Regions from separate parts of the Homo sapiens genome. Here region 1 is linked to region 2. The links are contacts of gene promoters, found by promoter capture Hi-C in blood cells and fetal thymus (Javierre and others, 2016). All regions are on one chromosome and are shown on one strand. The core of a region is centred on a gene start or on the middle of the fragment in contact, and the rest is flanking DNA. Distances in the headings are between cores, read along the strand shown.

Region 1 (4,688 bases), core at 878-3,377, 180 kb after region 2:
GTGAACTTGTGAACTTGAAGTCCCAACGTCATTTTATGTAAAATTGGAGAATTTAATACCTACTGTGCAAACTTGTTATATACTTCCCTTTCTGGCAAACATGAAAGGATCGATGAAGGGTAATCATTATCATTATATTTTTCCATAATCCTCTTAATGTCCAGCCCATAGGGATTCCCAATTAATAATTGTTGGAAGACAATAAATCATGACAACATTGTGAATATTCTCTATACCTAAGGTAAGTAAGCAATAAAAATGTAATAAAATACTGATGGTAAATATATTTATTTTTAATTCCGCCATATAAGCTATATAAAACGAAGAAAGATTTGAATATAAATGTCTCTTCCACCTAAGTCAAACAATGATATCTAATGGTACTGTTATTTTCTGACATGCTGAAAGAACAGGATTCTGTGGTCCTTTCTGAATGTAGACTTTAATGCCTTAGCAGGTCAGATAGAAGACTGAGAAAGGAAGACCAGAATGTAGAAGGAAGATCAAGAAAGGGCTGGGTGTTTCAGAGAAACCAAGTGAAGAGAGGGGTTTTGAAGAATGCTCCTATTATCTACAATGAAAAATGCTACACTGAAGATAGAAAAAAAAAAAACTAAGAGAGATCTAACAGCCTGAAGAAACAAATATGGGGGTGGGGGATGGAAAGGATGACCCAACTCACTGAGATCCAAGACCCTGCTGAGATAGAAGAGGAGAGGGATAGAGGCTGAACTGAGATGGGAGATCAAGATTAATAGACTTCTTATCCAACTGATGGCCTCAGTTGTCTCTGTCAAGCTGAGGGCAAGATGGTCAGTGAATATGGCCAGGGAGAGATGAGAATAGAGAATATGCAGAGAGAGAAACAGATCAGCTTTAATAAACAGAGAAGATCGTGCCGTGACTACATTTTCTTTTTTATAGGTCAATGGCCATTTTGAAAATGTTTGACAGTACTAAAATCAGCTTATGCATATTTTTTTGAAATAAGGCCCTATAATTTAATCTACACTAAATCATTCAGACTTTCCAGAGCCCCTATCATTATGACTAATTTGTTTAGTTAGATTTCTTAAGAGTATACATCTCTATCAAGATGAAGCTATGATTTGAATATGGTTTGTCCCCACTAAAACTTATGTTGAGACTTGGTTCCCAGTGAGACAGTGTTGAAAGGTAGTGACTTTACGAAGTGATTAAAATGGATTAATGTCTATTTTTCAAGATTGGGTTAGTTCTCATGAGAATACGTTGTAATAAAGTGAGCCTGCCTCTCCTGTTTTGCTTCTTTGTACATGTCTATTTCTCCTTCTGCTTTTCTGCCATGTTACGATGCCATAGCATGAAGCCCACATCAGAAGCTAGCCAAAGATGACTGCCTGATCTTGGCCCTCCCAGCCTCTAGAATCATGAGCTAAAAAAGTCTTTCCCTTATAAATTATTCAGTCTCAAGTATTCTGTTATTGCAATGAAAAATAGACTAAGACAATGAACAAAACATATTGAATGCTATATAGATGTCAAAAGAAATAGCGAGCCTAGGCAAAATATGGGTTACCTATGTAAAAAATGCTAACCAAAGGAGGATGAAGTTAATTTAAGAACTAGTTCTTATCTTTTTTAGACTTATGTTAAATGTTATTTCTCTTTTTAAAATAAATTATCATTTAAATTAATACAGATCAACTATGAAAAGACCTCATTGTGAACAGTGAGGACAAAGCTTCTGTAAGCATTGATTATATGCCAAATGATATCCCTGTGTGAGGTAGATTCTATCTGATCCATTTTGTAGATGAAGCCTCTGTGGCTTAGGAAAGTTAAGTGACATATTCAAGATCACACAGCAACTAAGTGGCAAGTGTAGACTCTAATCTGGCTCTGTCAGCCTAGTGACTGATACTTTCTCTAGAAAGTGGAGGTAGCATATGAGTCTCATCTTCCCAATCATCCCACAAGCTGCCCTTCGCTCCATGTGTCTCCTGGGGAAGTATTTCATCATTTACTCTGGAAATAGCATTCAAATGTCATCACAACCTTGCAGCATATTTCTGAGTCTGTGAGTACCAAGGAACATGTTGTCCCTTTCAAACATGCCCCTTCACTTAGATAATGTCAGTGAGTTTTTGTGGAATCTGATTTAAATGTATGCGTAAACAGGAAAGAATGAAATAATCAAAATCCACAGGCTGTGAGAGAAGAAAAGTAAATGATATCTAGTTACATTTATTTGACCAATAATGACAAAAGAAAAAAGAGAAATTAAAATTAATGGGGAAATTCTTAGTTATAACTGTCAAGCAGACAGTGCAGGATACAAAATTGTACATATACAGTTTATTCTTGATAAATGAAATAGCTACAAAAGACTGGAAGGAAAAAAATGTCAAAATATTAGCAGTTACAGTGGTTGCCTTTAGGCAACAGAATTGTCCTTGAGTCTTATTACTCTGTTTTACATCTATGAATATACTATGCAGTAAAGTCATTTTTATAAACAGAAAGATATAACTAAATCAAAGCCATCATTGAAAGCTTTTGGCCAGTGGCTGTGATGTCTAGGTCTTTTAAATCCACAGGGGAAGCTAAACCCTCAAACCACAGTCACATCTTCTTGTTTGGGGAAGATAGTGGGCAAAGCAGATGCCTAGAAGCACCAAAAGGAAGTCTGGAGGGTTTGTTTTCTCCTTCCAAAGAAGGGAGCCATCTGCGTCTCTGCACATGGAAGTTTCAATTCATGTGTGTCACAGCCATGAGGACATGAATGGCTGCCCAGGAATGCTTAGGGGCAGGCTGCTCTGTGGGCATTTGGTAACACAAGAAAAGAGGTGGTAATAGCCCAGCAATTCCAGCTATTTTTAATGCAACTCCAAGCTAATATACTTACTTCCTACATTTTAGCATCTATGCCAGGTTTAAAGAAACAGACCTGCCCCTAATTTAAGAGAAGAAAGGCCCCCTCCTGTCCCCCAAATTGTCCCTGCCATCATCCTTCACAGTGCTGCTGCATCCTGCCTCCTCACAGCAGAGCTCACCTCGAGCAACCAATTCCATTTTAAGGAGACAGAGAACAATTTATTCAACTTCAATTTGCTGAGAGGAAAAACCTCCTATTCTCTAATATTAATTCTTGAAGCCGATTCAAAAACAATTTTTGTTCCTTGCCAGGGTTTGAGGCTTTGAAAGATATTAATGTAGACAGTCTTTGAAATATTAGGAGTTTGCAGCCATTGTGAGGATCCTGAAGTTAGCAAGCATAAAAGGAAGTCTTAGGGCAAAGTATATGTTATTCTGTGTGTTGAAATATATATCAAGCTTCTTGTGGGGTAAGGGGCTTGGGCACCCCTGGGGAACTGTGGACTATATATAGATAAGTGTGACATTCGTTTAAAGCCGATCTGCCCTGTGAGAATGATTAGGTTTACTGGAGAGCTCTATTCTTATTTTAAAGTAAGTTTTTTACATCTCTAGTTCTGAAACACCCTCTATGCAGTTTTAGACATATACGACTTGTCTAATCCACAAGCCTATAGAGAATAGTGATGAGATGATAGCACATTTCGGTGCCTGCATTTCTCTCTCAAAGATTCAATATTTTCATTTTAGCTTTTTATTTTTACCATTTTTCACAGATAGCATGTAATGTATCTCCACTGTTCTTCTTCAAGCTTTACGGTAAGATTCATAAACTTCAGCATTTTAACTGAACACATCAGTCATATTGAAGCACAGTACCTCTAATATGGTTAAAGTGTTTTATTGACACGTGACAAAACTTGACAACTTGTGTTTTTTATTATTAGAATTTTCTAATGGTTCAGGAGAGTAAAAATTAGATAACAGTAGCACAAGGTTGAAGGAACTTCATTAGGTTGAGTTTGTTTTTTCACTTACTTGACTAGTTGTCTTTGTGCCACATAGTATGTGCTTAGTGGCATTGTGTCAAAATTTGTCAGGTCTCATACAATGAAGATATTCCTATAGATTCCCTGCTTCAGTCCATCTTATATTTTATCTTTCTAAAACACAGATGTGCTCATGCCATTGCTTGTAAATCTTGGTTGGTTCCTTCCTGTCTACCGAAGGAAAGCCAAACTGCTTAGCACCACATTCAAGACTCAAGACTCTTCAAGACTTAGCAATAGGTCCACATCCCTCCCAATGTTTAACCCTTCTTCCCTCAGTGCCTCAGCAGTGGGGCACAACCAAAGGGCTATGAGGACCACAGAGAAGACTGCTTTGCAGGAAGCAGTGGTCCAGGTAGAGGTAAGGGGCAGGATTAGTAGGACAGAGCATGGCACTTGATGTCAAGAACTGGGTAGTGTGCACTTGGAACAAGGTGAGAGGCATTGTCACCAGGCTAGGCTGGATCGTGATACAGCCAAGGCTAATTGGCTGTAACTGAAAGTAGATCTTTGGAGAGTAGGAGTTGGAGGAGAAGGAAGAACACTGAAAGCCAGAGAGAAATGGAGAAAATCATTTCCATGTCTTTTCCTCCAGGAACCACTTCCATAGGCAGGCTTTGCAGGAATGACAGTTACTCAATGTAGAGAAAACTGGATATCCCTCTTTTAGACTTATTTTGGGCTCAGATTCCTGTGTTCAGCTTTTTGCTCCACCATTATAGGCTCTGTGACCTCAGTCAGGTTACTTTGCTTTTCTGTGCCTCCTTTTAGCGGCCAGCAAAA
Region 2 (4,807 bases), core at 864-3,363:
ACCCTGTGCTTTGTTGTCAGCCAACAAACTATAATTTCATGACTGACTGGCCTAATACAGTCTTAGGTTCCAGATTCTGTGCACAACCTCACCAGACCACAGAAGTTAAAGGAAAAGCAAATAAATAAATAAATAAAACAGTAGGCAGAGGTCAAAAGACAATGCTCAACACCAGCCTGAAATAAGGCAAGTCTCTCACAGGAATACATTCGGGATTTTACTATCATTTAACTGAAGGACTATTTTGATTACCTGCTGATTCAACATTAACTAGACATTTATTAGAACACCTGCTTTGTGCCAGGCACAGTGGTAGGCCTGGAGGCTATAGTGGGAAAAATAAAACAGGTACTAATGAGTAGTTGGAATTTCTTAATGGAAAACAAGATCATTCTCCATTGCAACCACTCTATAGCTAGTGGAGGCTTTGAAGAGACTCTTAGAGAGGTTTCAGTTCAGATCTTTCCTGGGGCTCACTTTGGTACCGTCTTCAAGATTTCTCTTGGAAAGGGGCATTAACTCCTTATCCTATCTTAGATGCAATCATATTGAGTTTTTGCCCTTACCATATTCATCAGTTTACATTTCTGAATATACTCATAAAAGGTCTCCTGGTCAGGTCTTATCTCCACTCACTAAAGATTCTCTTAACATCCAGAAATCTATCTCCAGACACCCTTTTATGTGCTCTTTCTAGAATGACAATATAAATGAGTTGGTACAAGAAATGTGAAAAAGAGAGATTGGAAATCTATTGAAATTTGCTAGTCATTAGTGCAGAAGGCTTTATTCACTTCCACATATTTTCTGCATTTAGGATCACCTGAACTTTATCACTTTTGCTGGTAGCAGAACAATTAAGCTGAATAGGACACTTAATTCTAAGAAAGTTCTAAAGAAATCTTTAAAATTTTTAAGACTATCCCTCTCACTATCCTTTAGGCTGAAAGTCTGTCCAAATGTCTTTTGGCACTTATGTGGAATATGATGAATTCCTTTCGCTGGATGTATCTCAGGATAGCATTAATTTGGTGTGATCGGGAGGTGAATTTCTTTAGGATCTTTTTCACTGTTCATGTGCTGTTTTGCAGTTCCTTTGGAGTAGTGGGGGCTTAAGGGGGCTTAGCTTTCATAAACTTTTGGTCTTGAGAATATATACCTGAGATGGGGTCGGTTTGGGAGCCTCCAATGCCTGTCAATTTGGGAACTCCAGAGTAGGATTTTATAAAAATAATCATCCATTCATAACTGTATTGAGTTACAAGGGAGGGCAAGAGAGTCATCCCAGGTCATAGTCATACAATGTAAATTTAGACCAAGGGATGAAACGTGTTGGAGAACACCCTGCAATAATCATTATTGGGTATCTGTGAATTTAACACACTTTTCAGAATGGGACAAGTTGCTTGCCACGGTAGGAAAAGCTGTGCCAAATGTTTGAGGAGAAATGTGGAGAGGAATAACATTAGCTTCAGATACCAAATTGCAAGTTAAACTTCCTGAGGATTTCCCGAACCCTGTTCAAATAAATTAAAATTTTGTTTACCAAAATGACTCCGATATGCAAATACAGAACACAGTGTTATATAGGTGCTAGGGACTGAAATTTTTTACAATCATATAATTTATTGTAATACTTAATATTATGATAAGACCGTTAATTTATCATATTTTCCCTGTAGTGTTTACTCACATGGACGGGGATAGATCCAGATTTCATGAAGTCTGAAGGTTACCTAATTTTGGAGGCTATTCTTAATAAAAAGAATGCACACTTTTGAATATCAACACTGGTCCCTTACAAAGGACCCATGCAGATGAAGAGCCCTGAAAGCTGAGTTTCATTGATTCCGGGTGAAACTACCTCTGGATGTGGAGCTGTGTTATGGGAATACCGCATCACAGTCAGGACCCAGCTCTGCTGCCGCCTCAGTAGGAGGCAAAGGTGGAAACGTGGAAACTATGGTTATAAGGTTCATACTTTACTGACCATCATTGAAGCTGCTTGTTGGGTCCCTTAGGAAGGGATCTCTCAATGAAACAAACATTAGAGCTTCTTATTTTTTTTTGAGACAGTGTCTAACTCTGTCACCCAGGCTGGAGTGCAGTGGCACCATCTTGGCTCACTACAACCTCTGCTTCCTGGATTCAGGTGATTCTCCTACCTCAGCCTTCTAAGTAGCTAGGATTACAAGGCATGTGCTACCATACCGAGCTAATTTTTGTATTTTTAGTAGAGACAGGGTTTTGCCATATTGGCCAGGCTGATCTTGAACTGCTGACCTCAAGTGATCCACCCTTATGACCAGCAGACCCTGATCTAAGAAGCTAGATGATTCCTCATGAGGTCACTTATAAACCTTATTGCTGATGTATTTCAGTTTATTTATTGGACTATCTTAGATTTTAAACACCCCACCCAATGCCACCATCTATGTAGCAACTAGAGCAGGACTCACAAATAAAATAACCTTCAAGGCCAAACAGCTTCCAATAGCCAGATTTGTCAAGATTAACTTAAGGTTTTAAAATTAGGCAATGCTTGTAGACACAAACCACTGTGGGCACCATAAAATATCACCTTATTTCAAAAGACTGAGAAAACTGAAAATGACCTGAAAAATTCCTATTGAGTGATCTATTTAATCACTCAGGTGGGGTATGGTGTATCTGGTGCATGTTCAACCTCAGGTGCAGGTGCATGTGCATGCAAATATACACGCGCCACGCTTTTAACCATGCATCTCTCTTTGAAAAGATCATTCCTTCTTTCTTATCTATATGTGAACAAATTGTCAAAACAACCTCAAATGCTAGATGATATAATCCCCAAATGCTAGTAATATAAAAATGACTGTAATAATACAAGTGATATCATTGCTATACATAGCACCACACTTTTACTGTTTCTCAAATCTACAACTATCCTATTTTCTAGTGTTTGTTTATTTCTTTATTCACTGAAATGACTGATATGGGCAGTTTAGACACCCAGAGGAGGAGATAATGGTTTTGATTGTGCTAGATGGTTTGACTCTGCTGAGTGTATCCTATAGACTTAATACCAACAGAGGTCATGGATATTTTTTTCCCACTTCTTTTCCTCTTTATTGTTAAGGAGACTAATTGTGTGTGAGTGTATGACAGGAAATGTTTTGATTTTTTTGTAGTGGCAAGAACAGGAGGGCATTCTTTTAAACATCTTTTCATTTTCTAGGCAAAGCGTGGGAATGGAGGATGAGAGATAGTCAATTTTCAGAATAAGATGTTCTACCAAGATGTAAAGAGGGGAAAAAAAGTAACTTTCAACAGCTAGGCAAGAACTGCCACAAGCAGTAGTCGAAAAAATCAACGGCATGGTTTCCTAATGTGGTCTTGGATTCAGCAAGAAAATACTACAGAGAGAAAACTGCAGGAGTCCCTATTTTGTCCCCTCAAAATGAATTAAATGGTCTAGTGGAAGCTGAAGGACTCTGAAGATGGTGAGTCTACCACTGATTCTTCAGATGGTGTCAAAGATGATTCCTGGTTAGGTATAAAAAGCAGCACTTTTAGTCTGCTATTCATACATTAAAAATGACAGAGAATATACACCTAGAATATTTACCTAGTACTGCTGCCTTGGAAACATGGTTCTAGGTCTCAGGAGTTTCCCAACAAGGAGTCTTTGTGCTCTTGAGACCTCAACAATGTACTGAGCTGACTACCTCAGCAATATTCTATCTAAACTAACACCCAGGTATAGTGATCAATGGTCTAACCAGCTTGCAAGTTATGGCTGAAATAGTGGTTTACCTATCAAATCCATGTAACTCCCAGAATAATTATGATTCTATCTTTTGGGCTGGCAATTATTTAAATAAAATATTATTTACAAAGGAAACAGCAGGGAGAAGAATCATGTAAATTAGATTCATTAAGTGGACAGATTCACTTACAGTTCATTTTGGAATAATTTATGCCAGTTTTCTCTGATGTCATCTGTTGTTCAGGTTAACAATTAGCTCATTATTAACTGACAAAGGTTACTTTGTGTATTGGCAGAGGAAGGCATATTATTTGGGAAAGCTTCTATGACTACCGAGCTTTCATATGGGTGCAAGAGTTTATTTGCAAAAATCCAGCTCTTATTTTCTCAAACAATTCAATATCCTGATGCATATATCTCTGTATTCTCAGGAGGCTTTGCAGAGGAATATATTTCTCTTTGCTAGTGTATAAGCAGTCAAGACTAAAAGAGAATAGGGCAAAATATTCATTCCAACTCTGTATTACTCTCTGCTTTGAACTAAAGATAATATTTTCTAATATATTAAGAGACACCTCTTTTACAGGCCAAGTTACAGATCTCTTAAAAAATCCAATATGATGATGCCCATTTACAAAATTTTATGATGAGAAAATTAACTTTAAAACTCTTTTACAACTCTACCAAATGTAAGAAATATATGTCCCTAAGAAGGTAAGGCATTAGTCCATTTGGACCTTTTGAAATTCTTTGCTGTTGCTTGCAGTCTTTTATCTGTCTCAGCTGTGTGTAGTTTAGTGACTCTGACCTTGAGGAGGTAACAGAAATGGTGCCTACCATTAATGTGGTTTTTCTTTTAAAAAACAAAATGTTTCCTGGCATGTAATTGTTTTTTTCAAAAAAGACTTGACCCTGTGCAGTATTTTACACTTACATCATTTCCCCATTTATAATTCTTTCTTGTTTTGGTGTGTTGGAGGGAAAAAAAGTGTTATGTAGTTCTTTAAAAACTTTCAACCAAATAATAATAAACAATCGTAAGATTCTGAAGTATTTATC

What was found. The method cuts DNA at HindIII sites, captures the fragments that hold promoters and counts their contacts. A CHiCAGO score of 5 or more calls a contact.
Region 1: a fragment that was not itself captured here is called in contact with the fragment with the promoter of SLC9A9-AS1 in region 2 in 2 of 17 cell types (M1 macrophages and M0 macrophages); the score reaches 5.3 in M1 macrophages.

What each region holds. Positions count from the first base shown.
Region 1 is chr3:143,523,580-143,528,267 of GRCh38, forward strand. All of the region lies in intron 9 of SLC9A9 (solute carrier family 9 member A9), which reads right to left. Among named protein-coding and RNA genes, the nearest start is that of SLC9A9-AS1, 180 kb to the left of the region's middle. The HindIII fragment of the contact is 812 bases long and covers 1,722-2,533 here.
Region 2 is chr3:143,340,133-143,344,939 of GRCh38, forward strand. It overlaps SLC9A9-AS1 (SLC9A9 antisense RNA 1), which reads left to right and starts at 2,114. Exons shown (of 4, transcript NR_048544.1): 1 at 2,114-2,152; 2 at 3,218-3,482; 3 at 4,335-4,462. All of the region lies in intron 14 of SLC9A9 (solute carrier family 9 member A9), which reads right to left. The HindIII fragment of the contact is 6,948 bases long and covers 1-4,066 here.